Regions from separate parts of the Homo sapiens genome. Here region 1 is linked to region 2. The links are contacts of gene promoters, found by promoter capture Hi-C in blood cells and fetal thymus (Javierre and others, 2016). All regions are on one chromosome and are shown on one strand. Each heading gives the region's core, a stretch centred on a gene start or on the middle of the fragment in contact. The rest is flanking DNA. Distances are from core to core; before and after follow the strand shown. Region 1 overlaps PML (PML nuclear body scaffold). Region 2 holds the start of CSK (C-terminal Src kinase).

Region 1 (6,887 bases), core at 3,449-5,948, 780 kb after region 2:
TCAAGCAACCCTCCTGCCTCAACCTCCCAAATAACTGGGACTACAAGCATGTACCACCGACCATGCCTGGCTAATTTTTTTTATTTTTTGTAAAGATGAGGTCTTGCTATGTTGCCCAGGCTGATCTCGAACTCTTGACCTTAAGCAAGAGAACCTTTTTAAGAAAAGACTGAAATGAAATTTGAGAAATGATTGACTATGAGAACACTAATGAAGTTATCAAAGTTATGGCATACAGCCAAAACCATATACAGAGAACTTATGCCTTAAAAGAGTTATTATTAGGCAGGGCATTGTAGCTCACGCCTGTAATCCCAGAACTTTGGGAGACTGAGGCGGGTGGATCACTTGAGGCCAGGAGTTCGAGACCAGCCTGGTCAACATGGGGAAACCCCGTCTCTACTAAAAATAAAAAAAATTAGCCAGGCATGGTGGTGGGCACCTGTAGTCTCAGCTACTGGGGAGGCTGAGGCAGGAGAATCACTTGAACCCAGGAGGCACAGGTTGCAGTGAGCCAAGATCTACCACTGCACTCCAGCCTGGGTGACAGAGGGAGATTCTCAAAAAAAAAAAAGTTATTATTATTAAACAATAAAGATTGCAAATAAATGAATTATAAGTTCAAGAAGCTAGAAAATGAATAATGACAAAAGTTAGAAGGAAGAAAATGACAAAAATAAAATGATCAAACAGAAAGAAGGAAAACATTAAAATCAGTAAGCAATCTAAGGAAAGACTAAAAGTACAGTACTTTGAAAAGACTGCTAAACCACAAATATACAACATCAGAAATAAAAAAAGGGGGTATAGTTACAGGCATATAGGAGATTTTTAAATAATGAAAGATAACTCAGGATGAACTGGAAAATCTTCCAAAAATCTGACACAAGAGCCAAAACAGATTAATGCCATGGCAAAAATGGGAAAAGTTCCCAAAAATCTACTATAAAAAAGGCACCAGTTCCAAGATGGTTTTTCAAAAAACTTTTATAAGCCTAAATTTCTTATATTCTTCAAATTGTTCTAGAGCAGAGAAATTATAATAGAATTTTAACATTCACTGAGTATTTAATATGTGCCAGGCACTACGCTAAACAATTTATATGTACAGTTGGCCCTCAGTATCTGCAGGTTACGCACCCGTGGATTCAACAAATCTTGGATCAAAAATATTCAGGCGAAAAAAAATCAATTAAAAAAGTACCACAATAAAAAAATATACAAATTCAAAAATATAGTAAAACAACTCTTTACATAGCATTTACATTGTATTAGGCATTATAAGTAATCTAGAGATGACTTAAAGTATACAGGAGGGGATGGGTACAGTGGCTCACACCTGTAATCCCAGCACTTTGAGAGGCCTAGGGAGGGTTGCTGCCTGAGCCCAAGAGTTCTCAAGACCAGTCTGGGCAATGTCGTGAAACCCTGTCTCTACAAAAAATTTAAAAATTAGCTGAGTGTGGTGGTGCACACCTGCAGTCCTGTATAATCTGGTGGCTGAGGTGGGAGGATTGTTTGAACCCAAGAGATTGAGGCTGCAGTGAGCCACGAGTGCAGCACTGCACTCCAGCCTGGGCGACAGAGCAAGACCCCGTCTCAAAAAATAAAAATAAAATAAAAAATAAAGTATACAGGAGGATGTGTAGAGGTTATATACAAATACTATGCCATTTTATATCAGAGACTTGAGCATCTATGAATTTGAAACAGACTCCCATGGATCCCGTGGGATGGCTGCATTATCACGTTCAAAACATGAAAGCTTACAAATTCATTAAGAAATTAGTATAAGGCTGGGCATGGTGGCTCATGCCTGTAATCCCAGAACTTTGGGAGGCCGAGGCAGGTGGATCACCTGAGGTCAGGAGACCAGCCTGACCATTATAGTGAAACCCTGTCTCTACTAAAAATGCCAAAAAATTAGCCAGGCATGATGATGTGCACCTGTAATCGCAGCTACTTGGGAGGCTGAGGCAGGAAAATGGCGTGAACCCGGGAGGTGGAGGTTGCAGTGAGCCGAGATCGCGCCACTGCACTCCAGCCTGGGTGACACAGCGAGACTCCATCTCAAAAAAAAAAAAAAAAAATTAAAAAAAATTTTTTAAATCCAAAAGATAGAACCAGAGATAAAGCCAATTTCTCCTAATTTATTGCAATTTCAATCAAAATCCAATAAATATGTAAGTTTTAAAACTGCATAAATTGTAAGAGCAAAAGAAATGCATACATTTTTTTCTTTCGAGGAATTTGTTCCTGAATTCTTTAATTAGTCCCTTAATTCCTCAACGGAAACAACAACAACAACAGGCAAAGGACCTAAACAGGCCACTCGCAAATGCAGAAACACAATGGCCAATAAACAAGTGGAAAGCCACTCAACCTTTACAATAAGCTAAGAAACGTGGTGATACCAGCTGTTGAGGAGTCGGAGGGGAAAGCTTATTCTGATAGTGTGGGAAGTTTATCCTAAAGCAGGAAACAAATCACAGTCAGTTTAGCAGATATGTAGTTCAGCAAATATGTGGTTTAGCCATATATAGTTCTGAGTTGTCAAAAACCAGCGAAAAATGCTTTCATTTTGCAAGTGGATCTCTAAGAACCAAGAAGCGCCTTCTATGAACAATCTATTGCTAATGGTGAAAAGTTCACATAGTTATGCTACCTTTTTGGCTAAAAGAGGGAAAATAGGACCTGATAAGATTGCTCCTACCTGCATATATATTCGTAAAGAAACTCTCAGAAGAAACATTCAAAACTAGTAACAATGGCTACCTGTGGATGGGAAGAGGGAGAAGTGGTGGGAATTAGGCAGTTGGGCATGGACAGAAGATTGCACTCTCTCTCTCCTCTTTACAAATTTTGTTCGTGAACTGTACGAATGTATTACCTATTAAAAAACTGAGTTAAAATCTGTTTAATAAAAATAATTACAACTGGATGTGATTTTTTTTCCCCATACAGACATTCTCAGATAGCGCTGCCTGGTGTTAATGGTTTCAACTTTTCAGACAGAAACTAACTACTTGTCTCTGATCCTAGAATCCAGCCTTACTGAGATTCCGTGTCAGTGCTCTCGGAAAATTCCACTAAATTCTAAAGGGCAGTTTGGTAACATGTATCAAATGTAGAATTCCCGTCCCCCTACACCCAGCAGTGGCACTTCTAAAAATTTATCCTAAAGAAGTTACTGGATAAAGATGCAAAGATGATTCTGCAGCATTATTTATTACAGGAGGAAACTGGAAACTTACTATCCACCTGCGTGGGGACTGGCAGCATAAATTGTGGTCATCAACACGGACACTGCATATCTGCAGACCACATTTAGAGTTGCAAGGCCCCAGAAGCTCCTTGTCCTCAGCTGTGTGACTCTTTGGATCTTTGCTCCTCTCGCCCTCTACCTGGTACTTGGATGCACCACCCCACCCTGTGCCGGCCTACTCACCTGGTCAGCGTAGGGGTGCGGTGGTTGGGGTTGGAGCAGAAGATGTTGTTGGTCTTGCGGGTGCCGTCCAGGAACTCACGCACCGACTGGTTGCGCAGCTCTGCTAGGGGCCGGGCCTCGTGCTTGAGGAACCACTGGTGTGCCTCGAAGCACTTGGCGCAGAGGAGCTGCTCGCACTCAAAGCACCAGAAGTCGGCCGACTCTTTGCAGCGGGTGCACACAGCCTGCGCATCCACAATCTGCCGGTACACCGACAGGCGCCGCTGCAGACTCTCGAAAAAGACGTTATCCAGGGCGGGTGTGTCTGCACCTAGGGGCCAGGGCGCCTGGCAGATGGGGCACTGCATGCCCGACGCCTCCAGGCATCCTGAGCACAGCGTGTGCAGACAAGGCAGCAGCTTCGGGCACTTGGCTTCCGCCTGGCATTGCTGGCAGCGCAGAAACTGGAACTCCTCCTCCGAAGCGGGGGCTCGCTGGGGGACCAGAGAGGCAGGTGAGGCCTGGAGAAGTCCCAAAAGCCCCCACCTACCGGCCAACCACCCTTACAGCTGGACCCTGGAGTAGGACCTCATATTCCATTCCAGCCAGTCATTGGATGATGCAAAACCCTGGCTTATCAGCACCCCAATACCCCCATTTATTCAGGCCCTCCAGCTCTCACTGCACCATTTATTGAGCATCTACTTCTCATCACCCACAGTAATAGGCTCTGAGATATAAGAGGTGTAGGATACATTCTGCCTTCAAGGAACTCAGTTTGGAAGGTAGATACACTAAGTACCAACCTCATATAAAGTGCTTAATGCACAGTTTGGGGGTTCATTAAAGAGGTAAGCATGGAACAACAATATGACCCAGAAATTCCACTCTTAGATATATAACCAAAAGATGTAAAAACAAGGCCCAAACAGATACTTGTACAACAATGTCCACAGCAACACTATTCACAATAGACAAAATGTAGAAACAATCCAAGTATCCATCAACAGATGAATAGATAAACAAAATGTGGTCTACACATATAATGGAATATTACTCAGCGTTAGAAAGAAATGAAATTCTGATACATGCTACAACATAGATAGACCTCAATGACATTATGCTAAGTGAAATAAGCCAGTCACAAAAGGTCAAACACTGTATGATTCTGAGGCAGGAGAATAGGGTCTGGAGGCAGGGAACCTAAGGCCGATTCCCTCTGACTTCCTAGAACTAAATCGAAAGGAAAACCGCAACTCTCCATGCCTCAGTAACAAAAGGAAGAGAGGCTACTCTCTTTGCAAATCACCCCATTTCCTGCAGGGCAGATGGAAAATTGAAAGTACGTCTGGTTGGTTGCTTTCTGCAACCAATGGGGTGAACACCAAGTGGCCAATGGGAAACCTCTAGGGGGTATTTGGAACCCAGAAGATTCTGTAACTGGGGTCCTTGAGCCCTGCTCTAGCCGCTCCCACCCTGTGGGGTGTACTTTCATTTTCAATAAATCTCTGCTTTCATTGCTTCACTCTTTCCTTGCTTTGCTGTACATTTTGTCCAATTCTTTGTTCAAAATGCCAAGAACCTGAACAATTTGCAGTCAAGATCCTCTACTGGTAACAATTCCACTTACATGAAATATCTAGAATAAGTAAGTTCATAGGGACAGAAGGTAGATTAGAAGTTACCAAGGGCTAGGGGAAGGAGAAAATGAGGAGCTATTGCATTACTGGGGCTCAGGACACACCACTTCAAAGTATGACTGCAGGAGGCTCTTGAAATATACTTCTTTGGCATATTTTAAGCTGGTTATTCTGAGAAACTGCTGATACAGGAATAGCTCTGAAAAGCTCTCCTTTTGTAAAAAAGAAAGGCATTTATATCTTAAAAGAAAATCTACATTAGTAAAATGATCTATATTAAAAGAGGGCTGCTCCAGACAACTTTTATTATCTAAGAACTTTTAATCTACATAGCAAGACAACCTCTATTCACCAAACAGCTCCTCTCCTCACCCTCCCATAACTTGTGTTATCACCATCACCCAGAAGCTCCAAGCTCTTTTCCGTAGCTCAGGATGTTATACAGGCTTCAATCATCTGACCTTTCTTTGAGTCTCATATATTGTGGGACTCCTGAGTATACATATGTAATTAAATATGGGTTTTCCGCTGGTAATCTATTTTATGACTATTTAATTCATAGGCTATTTAATTCATAGCCCAGCCAAGGAAACTAGAAGGGTGGAGGCAAGCCATCTTTCCCTCCCCTATGGTTTAAAGAGTACAGAGTTTCTGGAGTAATGAAAAAGTTCTGGAAATAGATGGTGGTGATGGTTACACAATATTGTGAATCTACTTAATGCCACTGAATGGTACACTTATAAATGGTTAACATAGGAACTTATCCATTAGGTATATTTTACCACATTTTGTAAAATACAAAAACAGGCCGGGCATGGTGGCTCATGCCTGTAATCCCAGCACTTTGGGAGGCCGAGGTGGGTGGATCACGAGGTCAGGAGTTAGAGACCAATCTGGCCAACATAGTGAAACCCCATCTCTACTAAAAATATAAAAAATAGCCAGGTATGGTGGCGTGGCCTGTAATCCCAGCTACTCGGGAGGCTGAGGCAGGAGAATGGCGTGAACCCGGAAGGAGGAGGTTGCAGTGAGCCGAGATCGCACCATTGCACTCCAGCCTGGGCGACAGTGTGAGACTCCGTCTCAAAAACAAACAGATAAACAAACAAACAAAAAACAAAGCAAAACAAACAAACAACAACAAAAAAAAACCAAAGTGCTTAATACAGTACCTGGCACATTTGAAGTGCTCATAAATGTTACCTAGTATTGTTAAGTAATGTTATTCTTAGTTGTAATAATGTTTATAAAAGTTACTGTAATACGGTGTCCTCTGTACTTTCATGAAGGGGAGTAAAAGGGCCTGAAAGGCAGCAGAGCAAGAAACCCAAGTAGTTCCTTTGTCGGGGGAGGTGGGAGGTGGGCAGGAAAGGTGTGGCAAGAGAAGGGTTCGTTGGGGAGGCTTCCTTAAGCAGAAACCACATGAGCTGGGAGGCCTTGGCAAAGATACCTCTTCAGTCTGAGCCAGTTTCTCACCTCGGATCTGGGAAGTTGGTTTTAGTTTTGCCGTGCCTGGGACATGCCCCTGGCTCCAGGCCAGCGCAACAGGGGTACTACCTCCATCCTCCCTAATCTGAAGTCCTGCATCTGAGGCAAAGTTGAGGCAGGGCTCGAGGGTGGGCGGAAGGGCCCAGGCCCGGAGGCCACTGACCCTTCTCACCTTGCCCAACTGCTCAGTGGAGAAACCGCAGCCCAGCGAGGCCGCCCCAACTCCTCCGTGTCCTCTTTTCTACTCTATCCTACCCTCCCTTCCCTGCCCCACCCGAGACGGTCAGGACCCTGGTGTCTGGACTTCCCGCTTTGTGTCACTCTCTAGGGTA
Region 2 (7,585 bases), core at 2,904-5,403:
CCTGACCAACACGGAGAAACCCCATCGCTACTAAAAATACAAAATTAGCCAGGCGTGATGGCACATGCCTCTAATCCCAACTTGGAAGGCTGAGGCAGGAGAATCGCTTAAACCGGGAGCCGGAGGTTGTGGTGAGCCAAGATCGCGCCATTGCACTCCAGACTGGGCAACAAGAGCAAAACTCCATCTCACACACACACACACACACACACACACACAAAAAAAAAAAAGAGAGAGAGAGAGAGAGAAGAGGCCTTGTCTATTTAGCTCTGATGCTGGGAGACCGGAAGGGGAATGGGTGGAGTCAGGTCCCGGACCCTAACCAGCAGCCCATCTTCCCAGGGCCAGCCCCATGTCCTAGGCCAGCCAATCATATGGTAATGGGGAGAAGGGAAGGCAGGCAAGGGCACTGGCCATAGTATTCTAGAACCTCAGGGCCAGGGGGTTTCACAGGGGCTCCTCAGGCGGAGACCACCTCTTTGCCAGGTGAGTGGTCAGTCAACATTGGCCCGTGGCTCAGGCACCTTCCCCACAGGTTGAGGCAGCCAGCAGTGGGCACTCCTTCAACAATGCCAATCCTACTCACAGAGGGAGTGAAGAAAGGGCTGTGCCAGGCACTTTAGAGTCCCTTGGTTAGTTAGTTGACACTGTCCTTACACCTTCCTCTGAAGTAGGTGTTACCATCCTGTTATTTATATCAACGAGGCTCAGCAGGTCAGTGACCTGTCTAAGGTCCCTCTACCCTGGGCCTAAGTGGCATGTCTGGGCCTGGAACCCACATTCAGTTGGGTGCCAAGTTGCTTGTGCCCTCCAACACCCTGGCTGCTTTTGGGACTCATAGTAACGACAACCACAACAGCAACAGAGGGGAAAAATGCACACGCTCCAGTGTATGGGTGATGGCGCTGCAGCAGGCCAGCCTAGAATGTTCTGTAGCTTTTTAGAAGCAACGTTACTTAGACCGCGTAGCACCATGAGAAAATGCCCACAGACGCAGTATTAAATGAAAAAAGGTGTCACGGCACACACACTCCAGTGACAACGACAATGAAGGAAAAGGATGGGGAAAAGACTGGCAGTGAACTCCAAAATGCTAACACAGTCACTGCCTGCTGAAGAAATAGTGGGTGATTTTTGTTTCATTTTCTAAATTTCCTGTAGCGCTGTTTTGTTATTTTCTAAATCAAGAAAATGAGTACATTCATGGTTTCCCTATAATGAGCTCAGATTCACTTCCCTGGGACCCACCTGCTCCCTAGCTCTGGCCCACGTGTCTGGGACAATTTCTGCCATGGGATGCCTTTCTCATTTGGGACAGTCCCTCAGACATATGAGAATCTGTCCCTACTTTCTCTTTCCCAGACTCAGTCAACATCCCTGGCTCTTTGAAGATGACCTGTCAAGGTTTTAAAATCCTTCAAAAGATGGAGCCCAGAACCGCACCCAGGTGGGTCTGCCCCCTTTGGGGGGCAGCCATGTCACACTGTGGATCCTGGGTCTCAACCCCTACCTATACTTGTTTGGAGGAAGCTGCATTCTGTCCCCGAAATTTCCAACCCTTGCCGAGGGCCACTCTGTGTGGCTCAGCCTTTTGGGGTCTGGCCCCCCTGCGGTGGTGAATGGGAACATTTTCTGCTTTTTCCTTGCCCCTGACCCAATGCAGAGAGAAGAGCAGCTGCTTCTGAGAGGGTGGAGGGCACCAAGCTCACCAATGAAAAGCACATCCCTGCACACGTGCCAGCCAGAAGCCAGACTCCTTTCTTCAAAGGCCCTGGGACCCTGGATCACACCTTCACAGCTCACAGTTGGTAAAAAAATAAAATAAAATAAAATAAAAATTAAAAAGGCTGACTGGGGTGGGAGGGAGCTAACCATGTCAGGCTCCAGCCCCAGTCCCTCAGGCTGGAAAGGAAGTTAGGGCTGGGTGTGGGGCCATGTGAGGGGAGTCTCACAGGCCCAGGACATCTGGGTCCCCTCCACTGTGCATGTCAGGACAGCCAGAAAAAAAAGTGAAAAAACAAAAAAACCCTAAATCGTGAGCAGGGACCCAGCAGGACAAAACTGCCAGCAGCTCCAAGGGAGCCCAGACACTGCTCAGCACCCACCAGGGCAATGCCTGCTCTCCTGGGCCAGAGGATCCTGCCAGGCCTCAACCTCACCCCTGCTGTCCTTGCCCTGTTCCTGCTGTGGCCACAACCAAGAAAGACACTGGAACCGCCAGGGTACTAGGAGCTTGAAACAGGCCCCCTGGGTGTCCCCACTCTCACAATGCTCCCATGTCCCCAGTCTGTAGCCTGCTGCCAGTGGAGACAGAGCTTCCACGGTTCCCATGTGACCCCATTTATATCCTGAACTTGGCTGCTCCTGTGCCAGCTGGGCCATAGGTGTGGCGAGTGCTGGGTCAGGACTGACCACCAGGTTGTTTCAACTCAGAGCCGGGGCCAGGACCGGACCTTCCTGCCACACCACACAGATGGCCATACACCACACATTCCCCACATCTCCTGCTAGCTGACCCAGCCACAGCTGGAGCCGGAAGCCCTTTCACTCCCTCCAGCCCTCTGCAGGGAAGCACGTGCTCAACCAACAAGGTCCCTCTGGGGCCGGGCTGGGGGCCTGTGTCCCCAGTGGGTGAAGGTGCCTGCCTGGTTTCCTTCCACCCACAGCCATCCAGCCCTGTATAGCTGGGGATGAAAGGACAGCCAGCCTAACTCCACTAGAGGCCTGGGGTAGCAACTTCTCCCTTTGAGCCTCGGTTCCCGGGTGTACAAAATGGGCGGGGAAGTGAACTGGTAGTTAAGCTCCAAAAAATCTGCTGGCTGGACACACCCCTTCCTGACACCTGGTCTGGGCCACAAAGAGCCTAGGAGAATGGGCTGCCCAGGGTGCCAGAAGGTGGGGGCATGGTGCTAATGCTCCGTTACCTCCCCCCGGGCAGAAGGCCTGCCCAGTTTCCCACCCAAAGATCCCTTGGCTTAGGCCTGGTCTTCTGAGAGGCCAAGGGTGACAGGCTCAGTCCTAGGACCTGGGCTTCTAACTGCTCACCCGAGGTGGCTGGGCCCTGGGCTTGCTTGCAGCCCGCAGGGTCATGGTGGGGTAATGAGGGAGGGGTCAGAACCAAGCAAGCCAGGGCACCTGCGGGGAGGCCCTGTACAGGGAAGGGCAGGGGAGTCCAGCACTCTCTCTAGGGACCTGGCCCATACGGATCCTCTTCCTCCAGACTCCAGCCACCTCCTACTCTGAGCTCCACAGAGGGGGGGACTCGGGATGACCCGAGAAGACGAGTCCGTGGAGCTGCAGGGCAGTACCTCCCTCATGCACTCCCTTCCAATTTGGGTTCTGACAGTGGCTCCTGGGAGAATTCGAACCCGTGCAAGGGAGTAAAGGAGAGAAGGGAGAAGTGGGAGAAGAGGGGAATGGGAGTGGACGCGACAGTGGCAGCAACAGAGACTAGACGCGCGACCTCCACCCTCTTCCCTCCAGGGGACACTCCGGGACGGCCAGGCACTCACCTCTCTTGGGGCACTGCGGTCCGGGCCACCTCGCCGCGGGCGGCATCAGCGGCCTGCGGGACGGTCCATGCGGTCAGGGGGGAGGGGAGGGGCGCAGGGGTCCCCAGGGGGTGCGGTACAAAGAGGTATGGGTGCAAGGAGAGGGGAGGAGGGACCGCCAGGCAGAGGCAGGGGGACGGACGCACGGCCCGGGTCGCGGAGGGAAGAAAGGCGGGGGAAGGGGGCGGGAGGGAGTCGGGGGGAGGAAACAATGTAGCCGGCGCGGCCCCGGCAGAGTTCCGCTTCCGAGCGCCGCCACTGAGGTTCGATTTTGGAACGTCGCGCTGGCTGCCGGGGGCCGCCCCGGACGCTCGATCGGGGCCGCGGGGCTCCTCGCGCTCCACGCCCCGCGGGCTCCGGCGGCCAGAGGCTGGCTGGGGCGGGAGGGACGGCGGGCCGGGTTACGGCCCCGACGGCGGCGCAGCCGGGCGGTCGCCCGGCTCGGACCCCACCCCGGCAGAAGCCCCCGGGCAAGGCGCGGGTGGGGCAGGAGCGGGAGGGCGGCAGCGGGCTCGGCGGCGGCGGCGGCCAACCTCGGCTCGCCCAGGGCTCCGCTGGGAGGAAGCTCGCAGGCCTGGCGAGAGGAAGCGCGGCCCGGATCCTCCGCCCGCGGCAGCGCGCCTGCGCGAGGGGGCCTGCCCGGCGCGCGGCGGGGCGTGGGCCGGCGGGGCGGCGCCCCCTGCCGGGCGCCGGGGGCACTGCGGGGGGTGTGTCCGCGCCCACGCCCTGCCCCCACTTGCCGCCTGGCTGCGTTGAAGGCTCCGAGGGTCTCTCCTCAGCCGGCCTGGGAGCAACCTCCCAGCCTTCTCTGGACGCAGCTTTCCCGCTGCAGAAGCGCTGGGGGCCGGGCCTGGGCCCCTCTCCTCAGGTCTGTTTGTGGAGAGTGGGCCTGATTCGCAGCAGAAAGCCTTCATTCATTCATTCACCAACATTTCCTGGCGCTGACATCGTGGCGGAGCCTGCTCTGGAGTCTATTGGCAAGACCATTTCACTACCGTCAAGGCGTTCTCGGTCGGGTGGGGGTAGGCTGACAGGCCGACAGACAACGGCAAGGAAATAATTGATCAAAGTGGAGAGGTGGTGGACACGGTTCCCAGGAGGCAGAAAGAAAACTAGGGCTAACGGGGAGACCTCACACCTCACAGAGCCGGGACCAGGCAGAGGGAACAGCATGCACAAGGGCGGGGAGTGCGGAGGGAGCTTGGTGGCTTCTGGGATCTAAATATAGCTCAGGCGGCTGCCGCTTGCAGTGTGGGTGGGGGAGAGTGGTGGGAGATGGGTTCCTGCAAACAACAGGGGCAAAAGAGATCCAAAGAGCCTCATGGGACTTTCTTGGAGTTTATGTTCAGCCTGGAGGCAATAAAGAAGTTGTCAGCAGCTCTGTGACCTTGGGCAAGTTACTTAACCTCTCTGTGCTTTAGTTTCCCCATTTGGTAAAATAGGTGATATATAATGGCACCGACTTCTTAAGTTTTTGTGGGGAGGGGAGGAAATGAGTTAATACGTTTAAAGTGCTTAGTATGCAGTAGCTGGCACGTGAGGAGCCCTCCGTTAAGCAAGGGCTGTTACATCACTGTTAACGAAAAGCAGGGAGATGACCTGCTCTGAGCCACAGGAGAGGACAGCGTGCTCAGGCATGACAGGGGTGGGAGAGTGCAGGGTGGCGGGGGAACAGAATGGGGATGCAGTGATGAGGGTGAGACCGGGGAACAGAATGGGGATACAGTGATGAGGGCGAGACCAGAGACTCCAGCGTAGGGAGGAGGTAAAGGTGGGGGACTTTCTAGGGACTAGACCCTGAAGCAAGGGTCAGGCTTGGGTGGACAGAGGGAAGAGGCACTCTTGGGGTTGGGGGGGAGGAAGTGGGGCATGCTGACAAAGTCTTGGAACACAAAATAAGCATGAAGAGGCCCGAGGGAGCGAGAAGAGGGCAAACAGCCCTGTGGGAGACGGAGCTGGGAGACAGTGTGGCTGCAGATTGTTTTAAAGAGCCTCGGATGCCAGGAGGAGTTGCCCCCAAAACCACAGGTCGGCCCTCTGACCCAGGGCACCCTTAGGCCGGTTTCCCAGCTGGAGCCAGCCCTTTGGAGAGGGATGTCCTTTGAGGAGACAGCCAGTAAGTTTCAGAGATAGGTGTGGTGTAACAGAAAAAAGATGAATTTGGGGTTCAAGTCTCCAAGTTAAATTTCAACCCGTCCACTTACTAGCTGTGTGACTTAGGGCTAGTTACCTAAGGTCTCTGAGCTGTTTCCTCTTTTGTAAGATCAGGCTCAAAATATACTTCTCTCATGATAGATAGTGCAGATTCAGCAAGATAACGGCCTGGGGGTGAGGGAGTGGAAAGGGTGCTCAGCAGAGCTGGTTTCCCTTTCTTTCCTCTGAGGTCAAGATGGAATGATAATATGGGGCCGGATGGGGGGCCGCCTCTCAGCCTACAAGAAAGCACTTCAGCAGCTCTGCAAAGCCTTCTGGGAGGGAGAAATTGACATCTCCCCTCCCCTGGCTGAATCAGCTAGCAGAATGGGAAAGAAAAGACTGGGGATTTGGGGAAAATACTCTAATCCCTGTTCCAGTTTTGTCACCAACCTTTCTTTATCCCCAAATGCACTTGACTTTTTCCCCTGGGTGTGCTGTGGCCCAGCTGTGAACTTTGGAGTCAAATAGACCAGCATTTGAATCCTGGCTCCACCTCTTCTCAGCAAAGTGAAATAAATTTTTTAATCTTCCTGTACTCCAGGCACTGGGGATAAAACCATAAACAAATCGATAAAGGGCCCCACTCCCACAGACCTGTCCTCTGGTGGAATTATTGGGCTGGGCGCCGTGGCTCACACCTATAATCCCAGCACTTTGGGAGGCCGAAGCAGGCAGATCACAAGGTCAGGAGATCGAGACCATCCTGGCTAACATGGTGAAACCCTGTCTCTACTAAAAATACAAAAAATTAGCTGGGCGTGGTGGCGGGTGCCTGTAGTCCCAGCTACTGGGGAGGCTGAAGCAGAAGAATGGTGTGAACCCAGGAGGCGGAGCTTGCAGTGAGCCGAGATCACGCCACGGCACTCCAGCTTGGGCAATAGAGCGAGACTCTGTCTCAAAAAAACAAAACAAAACAAAACAAAACAAAAAAACAAATGCTTATTGAGCACCTACTAAGTGCTAGGTGGGAAGTGCTAATTAGGGAAAGGGAATCTGGTCGGTGGGAGCAAGGGAAAGCAAAAAGAGAAATTAGATAAGCTGTGAGTCTGCCTTTCTTCATGTCTAGGACATATAGCTCTCCTGTGCAAATAATTCACAATCTTCCTGTGCCCGACTATCACCAGACTCCTGCAAGTTAGCTCACTGTACCCTTGGCAAGTTAGCTCACTGTACCCTTGGCGTTTGATACTGCACAAAAACCTCCTCAACAGATAGCATAACACTAATTCTATAAAATCTCCAACAACCTTTTGTTTCCTGGCAGTCAGCTTCTCTTCTGCCTTCTTGCAATGTATTTTCCTACTTTTTCTAATAAATCTGCCTTTATCTACAACTGTCTTAGTAAGTTTTTGTTTTGTTTTGTTTTGTTTTTTGTTTGTTTGTTTTGAGACGGAGTCTTGTTCTGTTGCCCAGGCTGGAGTGCAGTGGCATGATCTCGGCTCACCACAACCTCCCGCTCTGGCATTCAACCATTCTTCTGTCTCAGCCTCCCACGTAGCTGGTACTATAGGTGTGTGCCACCATGTTCAGCTAATTTTTGTGTTTTTAGTAGCGATGGTTTTCACCATGTTGGCCAGGCTGGGCTCAAACTCCTGACCTCAAATAATCCACCCACCTTGGCCTCCCAAAGTGCTGGGATTACGGGCGATAGCCACCACGCCCCAGGCCAGTGTTGGAGGAGTGGGGGAGGGTATTGCAGGTGGGGAGGAAGATAGTGAAAGACCCTGAGGCACAGAAAGCCTCAGTGGCTCAAGGGACAGCCAGAAGGCCAAGGTGATGAGACCGGCAAGCAGGGGAGAGTGGTGTTTGAGGAAGGGACAGATTCTATAGGGTGTTGT

The links. The method cuts DNA at HindIII sites, captures the fragments that hold promoters and counts their contacts. A CHiCAGO score of 5 or more calls a contact.
Region 1: a fragment that was not itself captured here is called in contact with the fragment with the promoter of CSK in region 2 in 3 of 17 cell types (non-activated CD4 T cells, fetal thymus and total CD4 T cells); the score reaches 6.5 in non-activated CD4 T cells.

What each region holds. Positions count from the first base shown.
Region 1 is chr15:73,995,038-74,001,924 of GRCh38, reverse strand. It overlaps PML (PML nuclear body scaffold), which reads right to left. Exons shown (of 9, transcript NM_033238.3): 2 at 3,449-3,921. Among named protein-coding and RNA genes, the nearest start is that of PML, 3.8 kb to the right of the region's middle. RefSeq lists enhancers at 3,835-4,337, 6,627-6,796. The HindIII fragment of the contact is 4,510 bases long and covers 2,444-6,887 here.
Region 2 is chr15:74,778,648-74,786,232 of GRCh38, reverse strand. It overlaps CSK (C-terminal Src kinase), which reads right to left and starts at 4,153. Exons shown (of 13, transcript NM_004383.3): 1 at 3,513-4,153. RefSeq lists enhancers at 1,794-1,853, 1,864-1,993, 2,876-3,451, 4,494-4,563, 4,584-4,703 and silencers at 3,684-3,943, 4,054-4,273, 7,311-7,585. The HindIII fragment of the contact is 10,374 bases long and covers 1-7,585 here.